Linked DNA regions of Homo sapiens: region 1 is linked to region 2. Evidence: promoter capture Hi-C in 16 types of primary human blood cells and fetal thymus (Javierre and others, 2016). All regions are on one chromosome and are shown on one strand. Each heading gives the region's core, a stretch centred on a gene start or on the middle of the fragment in contact. The rest is flanking DNA. Distances are from core to core; before and after follow the strand shown. Region 1 holds the start of LINC01548 (long intergenic non-protein coding RNA 1548). Region 2 holds the start of IL10RB (interleukin 10 receptor subunit beta).

Evidence for each region. The method cuts DNA at HindIII sites, captures the fragments that hold promoters and counts their contacts. A CHiCAGO score of 5 or more calls a contact.
Region 1: the fragment with the promoter of LINC01548 here is called in contact with the fragment with the promoter of IL10RB in region 2 in 11 of 17 cell types (neutrophils, non-activated CD4 T cells, total CD8 T cells and 8 more); the score reaches 13.7 in neutrophils.

What each region holds. Positions count from the first base shown.
Region 1 is chr21:33,168,956-33,172,138 of GRCh38, reverse strand. It overlaps LINC01548 (long intergenic non-protein coding RNA 1548), which reads left to right and starts at 1,903. Exons shown (of 4, transcript NR_024102.1): 1 at 1,903-1,998; 2 at 2,306-2,443. RefSeq lists an enhancer at 2,622-2,691. The HindIII fragment of the contact is 7,514 bases long and covers 1-3,183 here.
Region 2 is chr21:33,264,764-33,267,882 of GRCh38, reverse strand. IL10RB (interleukin 10 receptor subunit beta) reads right to left here and starts at 1,516. Exons shown (of 7, transcript NM_000628.5): 1 at 1,369-1,516. The coding sequence starts at 1,417. All of the region lies in intron 7 of IFNAR2-IL10RB (IFNAR2-IL10RB readthrough), which reads right to left. IFNAR2 (interferon alpha and beta receptor subunit 2) reads right to left here. Exons shown (of 9, transcript NM_001289125.3): 9 at 2,219-3,119. It overlaps IL10RB-DT (IL10RB divergent transcript), which reads left to right and starts at 1,623. Exons shown (of 2, transcript NR_038974.1): 1 at 1,623-1,820; 2 at 1,981-2,251. RefSeq lists a silencer at 1,261-1,670 and enhancers at 1,841-1,910, 1,941-2,000. The HindIII fragment of the contact is 8,663 bases long and covers 1-1,659 here.

The DNA.
Region 1 (3,183 bases), core at 654-3,153, 96 kb after region 2:
CTCTGCACTCACTGCTCTGATTTGGTAGCGGAAACACATCAAATGAGTTCTGTTCTTGCAAGTGAGGAAGGGACAAGAGAGGGGACACAAGATGAAAGGCAGGGAGGAGGAGAGTCTCCCAATCTCAACCTCTGGGAGTTTCACGCTTATCATCTGGGGTCCAGTTGGCATGCGGCCAGTGGGCGGTGGCAGCGGCCTCCTTGGGGCAGGAGTTCCTCACTCTTTTTCCTCCATTTGTCTCCTTGGGTCCCTGGCACCTGCTGAGTGAGAAGCCCAGATCTGTATTAGAAGCTGCTGCTCTCTGGCCCAAGAAGGGCAGCGGCCTCTGGATTAGGGAATGGAGGGATGGCTGTTCCCGGGATCACCCCTCTCCCTCTGCCTGTGTGCAGCCTTGTGTGCTCAACCCTGCACCCCAGGGGCCCTCAGACTACTATCATGAGGCCCAGGCCTTGAGCTGCAGAGCTGGTTAATTAGCGCTGGAGCCCAGGAAGCCCCATCTGTTCCCAGCACTTGTGTTGCTCTGATCTCTCCATTTCCCTGACTCCCAGGCCAGGGAGAGTTCTTGTCCTCCTACCCTGCAATCCCTGGAGATGCGCTCCCCCCAACCGCAGCCCAAAGTGCCTTTTCATGGGGCTGTAAGGCAGCTGTCACGAGGTAAATCCCACTCTTTACCCCGCCAGCAGGACAGGTAGGGACAGGTGGGAGGAATACGGGAGGAAACAGCTCCCACTGGTGACTGCCGGACCCTCTCCTCGCTGGCCGCAGACCCTGGAGCCACTTCCCTACCGTATCCAGAGCAGGCCCAGCCCCCGACAAAGGGACCTTTATATGGTGGTCCTGGAATTTTAGTTGGGTTCCCGTAAATGCAGACCCTGACAAGGTCTTGGGCACAGGAGGTTTATCTGAGGGGACTCCAGGAAGCAGGAGTCAGGGAGAAGGAAGCAGGAAACAGAAGTAGACGTCATTACTGAGATTGCTGCTGGAGGCAACAGGGGTCTTGAAGGTAAGAAACATGTCCTTACGGGAGAAGCTGCCTTGGTGGGTTTGGAAAGTGTGAAGAGTTCGCAGGCGTGCTCATCATCAACTAAGTGGACAGGTGAAAGCTGGAGGGGCTCTGCAGAAGCCCTGAGTTGCACTAAAATCTGTACTAATCCAAATAGTGGGTCTAGATTCCCTCTCCTACTCAAAATGACTTTAACTCCTCCAATTTAGCAAATATTGGTTGAACATCTCCTACTGTATTTAATGGAATGTAAGAGATCATTGACTATAAGGCACGCCATTATTTTAAGAGGCTCTAAGAAAAGAGCTTCCAACTCAGCTATGACACTCTATGAAAAGTAAGACTTTCCTAGGTCAGAAGCACAGAAGTGTAAAAAGAATGTTGGTCTCGGGATGGGTACCATGTGCACTGTAGCTTAATGGGCATAGTGGGGCATTGTGACATAGAAACTGCCCTTGCTCCCAGCAGAGGAGAAAAAGCGTGTAAAGCAATGTCAGTGATAACAAGCAAAAATAGGACAGGGGAGAAAGCCAAGAGTCTTCAGACCACAAGAGAAGGAGAGATTAATTCTGGTAGGGAGGTATCAAGGAGGCCTTCCTGGATGAGGGGGTGGCATCTGAGCTGGGCTCAGGAAAAGGTGGGGCTTGAACTATTGGGGATGAAGGGAAAGGCATTCCCGGCAAGTGGGAACAGCACAGGCAAAGGCTCTGAGAGGTCCTAGAAATAAAGTTATTGCACTTCAAGGGGGTTGTAAGATTTATGGGTGAGGATAAGGAAAAAGTAGAGAATTAGAAAAGCAGTGAACTTACCCCTTTACCCAGAAATCCCCCTCCTAAGTGCATGGCCAAGAGAAATTTGCCCTCAAGTGCACCTTTTCCCTTTAGGAAAATCCACCTGGATGGACAGCAGCAGAGGGAGGAGGAGGCAGGACAGACCAGAAGAGAGACAATGAGGTTCTGAACCTAGATGTTGGCCAAGGGAGCAGAGGAGGGCAGGTGAATGGCGCTATAGGGGATACTGTAGCAGGAGGGTTGACTGGACTCAGCAACTGGGGAGGGAGTAGGCAAAAAGAGAGCCTGGGAACTTAGGACAAGAAGCAGGGTATTTTTTTTTTTTCAAGGGAGAGGTAAGCAACAATGATTTACTTGTTCTTACACATGGAACTCTCCAGGGCACTACACCTGCATTTAAATCACTTGGCTCCTGGCACATGGCTCTCCTCCCATTTCTCTTTCTGTCCACTCCCTCTTCATTTGTCCTCTGCCCTCTTCGTATGACTGTTCCTTGGGGCCCTGTCTCCAGGTCAGGAGGCCCTCGCCCTGCAATCACCCTTCCTGGGAGCCTTCACTTCACCTGTGATCTCAAGACCTCTCCCTACTGCCTGACTCGCGCCGAGCTTATGGAACATCTTCCCTTGAGGGTCGCAGTCCATTCGATGAGGTATTTTCCCCATGAAATCCCTTATCTTTGGGAACCTCTTCTTTTCCTTGTGCGTCCTATGTGGGTGGATGGAGAACCACTCTCCACGTGGTTACTCGGTCCAGAAGGGCGGCTGTCTGTACAAATGCGCCTCTTCCTTTCACTTCCTCTATCCAACCAGCTTCTTCTGCCCACCTCCCTTTCATGCTCCTTTCACGCTCCTTTCACATGCTCTTGGCTCACCGTTTTTTTCTTTAAGTTTTTAGAGACAGGGTCTCGCTCTATCACTCAGGCTAGGGTGTGCTGGCACGACCATGGCTCACTGCAGCCTTGACCTCCTGGGCTCAAGCTATCCTCCTGCCTCAGCCTCCTGAGTAGCTGGGACCACAGGCACGCACCACCATGCCTGGCTAATTTTTTATGTTTTGTAGAGACAGGGGTCTCTTTCTTGCCCAAGCTGGTCTTGAACTCCTGGCCTCAAACAATCCTCCTGCCTTGGCTTCCCAAATTGCTGGGATTGCAGGAGTTTGCCACTGCGCCTGACCTGGCTCGCCTTTTTTGCTCCTGGGCGTTGCTCTGACAACCGCAACAAGCTGTCACCTGACAGCTGTGGCAGTGGGTATCTGCTGTGGCAGGCTTTCTGTCCAAGCCTGCGGGGACTTGCTTAGCTATACTGGCTTGTGTGTAAACTTGGAAGCTCAAGGGAGGTGGCTTTCCTTGGGGGAAAACTTTGACCAATAGGGGCAGGAGCTGATGAGCTC
Region 2 (3,119 bases), core at 267-2,766:
ACCAAGAAGAGATGTGGGCTAGAGACAGAAATTATTTTCAAACCTTTTAATAGAAAATTCGAAACCTGGCCAGGCATGGTGGCTCGCGCCTGTAATCCCAGCTCTTTGGGAGGCTGAGGAAGGTGAATCACCTGAGGTCAGGAGTTCGAGACCAGCCTGGCCAACATGGCGAAACCCCATCTCCAATAAAAATACAAAAATTAGCCAGGCGTAGTGGCACACACCTGTAATTCCAGCTACTCGGGAGGCTGAGGGAGGAAAATCGCTTGAACCCGGGAGGCGGAGGTGGCAGTGAGGCAAGATCAAGCCACTGCACTCCAGCCTGGGCCACAGCAACAGAGCAAAACCCTGTCTCAAAAAAAAACAAAAAAACAAAAAAACAAACAAACAAAAAAAAAAACGGAAGAAGAAAGAAAGAAAAGAAAATTTGAAACCTACATGCAAGTAGAAAAGTAGAAGACTATAATAAACCACCACCCATCACCCAACTGGTACCAAGAGAGATATAAATGTGCGAGTCATGGGCCTATAGCCCGTGTTTAATGCCAGGGTTTGGCTGAAATCCCCCAAAGGAACAGTGCCAGGGAAGGAGAGAAAAGGCCTTGGGCATCACAATTAGCTACATAGAAACCTGACAGAGCAGGAGGGTCCCAAGCAGAGACAGCCTGACAGGGCGGGAAACCGGAGGGGTATCCCGGAAGGCCAGGGAAGAGTTCATGAGAAAGGAAGGAGGTGACCATGGTGTTATTGGAACCTAGGCAGTCAATTTAGAGGACAGAAAAGGTTTCAATGGATTTAGGTTTAGAAGCCATGGAGCTGGGGCGCTGGGGGACAGAATCCAGATTTCAGGGTGCTCGGGCCTGAACCGGAAGGAGGGGAGGTGCAGCGGGTGATGGGAGGCACATCTGTAGGGAGGGCTGGCACTGAGGGGGCAGACTTGGGGTCAGGGAGGGCTGTCAGGGCACTCGGGGACTGGTGGGGGCCTCCACTTGAACTGATAGTCTCCAGAAGGGTCAGATGACAGCCACGGTGGGATCTTGGGTCTTTTGGGGAAGCTACTTTATTTAGACGCCCGCCAGCAGAGAGCTGCAGGAGGACAGGGAATCAAAAGACGCCGGGAGTCTCCCCCTGAGTTTAGGGCCCAGACGGTCTGTAATCCGGGCGCGGATGGGGCTTTCTCCTGTTACAGAATCGACGGCAGCAGCAGCCTAGTTGCGTCTCAGCAGCCGGCCGTGGCGTTTGCATCTTCTCTCCCGAGGCCCCGAAGGCTCTTAAGTCACTTGCAGGGCGCCCAGGGATGGGATCAGGGGCGGCATCTCGCGGGGCCTCCCGGTTCCCAAGCGCGCCCCCTCCCCGCGGACCCCTCACCTGACACCAGCAGGCAGCCACCCAGCCAGCTCCCAAGGCTCCACGCCATGGACGGACGCTGGGGGTTCCGCGGCTTCCTCCAAGCACACGACCCCCGCCCGCGCCCGGGAGAGCTTGTCCGCGGCGGCTTCCGGGAACCAGCGGAGATGGGCGGGGCGGGGTGGGGAGGGGCCGGGCGACCGGGCTCCCACCCCGCTGCAGGCCCCGCCCACCAGCCCGGGTCCACCCGCGAGGCGCGGGGCACAGGCTTGGCAGATGCACACGAGGAAGAGGAAGGGATCCTCGCAAGCTTTGAAAGGCGCCGTCAAGTCAAATAAATAAATGCCCTACAACACCAACCCAGGACTGAGATCTGCATGCTGGAATGACGGTGGTGGTGGTGGCTTTCAGTATTCCCCAGGTTTTGTCCGGAGCACCGGCACGCCCTCTCTTGAAGTCCGCTCTCCGCACAGGTGAGTTAAAAGCACTTCAGCAGCAAATCCAGTTTGAGGGTCTTCTTTACCCTTCTCCCCAGGGATAAACAACACAAAACCAAGTCATCTTTACGCAAATAACTAGTTTCTTTCAGAGACTACTAAGAAAGCGTTAATTTCCTCTTTTTAACTTGATTAGTGGTTAGACGGGAAGATCCGGAGCTGTCCAGTGTCTTGGGTAATGCACGGCATCGCCTGATGTCTGACGCTAGAACACCACGTAAAGTCAAGCAGAGGGAAGTGAATGCGCCCTAGGCCCCTGCAGGCCACCAAGAAGAGCTAGAGGGAGTTGGTGCAATCCTAGAGATGCCGGCAGGTGCACCAATCTGTGGCACACGTACGCTCTCCAATGGAAGACAACTCAAGACCACACCAAGTTTGTATTAAAAAAGTACTGTTGTGTTACTTTTTACCAACCTCCAATCATTATACAAAATGTTAAAAAATACACAAACACACACACACACTCACAGCCATAGAGGTTATCGCAAAAGATCAACCCAGAATCTTTCAGAATATGACAGATGCACTGAGAAGGCAGATAAATTGATTCAATATACAAAAGGCCTCTTTCCTATGGAATTTCATTAGATTAAATAAGGTGTTCCCTCCTCACAGCCTCATCCTTATGAGCAATCATATAAATAATCTATTTAAAGTCCTTGAACTATAACTTGTATAATTTTTAGTTTTCCCCCTTTGAAGGGGCCTAAGAGAAAGGTTTGAGAAACCAGCTCTTGAGGGGGGCAGGGGTGAGGGGTAAGAGGTCCTGTGCCTTTCATTCATCCTGGGAGCTTCTCAGGATTGCAGCATTTCCACCTGAGTGTTCATTCTTGTACATTTTCTCATCTTTCTCCTGGGTTCCTAGGATCTTGGAGATTACCTAGTCCAATCCTTTTACTTCAGAAACAAAAAACCTGAGGCTCAGAAAGGCTAAGTCAAATGCCTAGGGTCACACAGGGAAACTGTGGGAGTTGGATCCCTGAGTCCCAGTCCTTAAACTGGTTGCTACATGACATTCTAGAACCTCTCCCCACCAACTCCCTTTTTAAAGACAGGGTCTGGTTCTGTCACCCAGGCTGAAGTGCAGTGACATGATCTTGGCTCACTGCAACCTCCGCTTCCTGGGCTCAAGCCATTCTCCCACCTCAGCCTCCCAAGTAGCTGGGACAACAGGCACATGCCACTACGCCCAGTTAATTTTTCTAATTTTGTTTTGTAGAGACAGATTTGCCATGTTGCCCAGGCTGGTCTCGAATTACTGGCCTCAAGCGATAC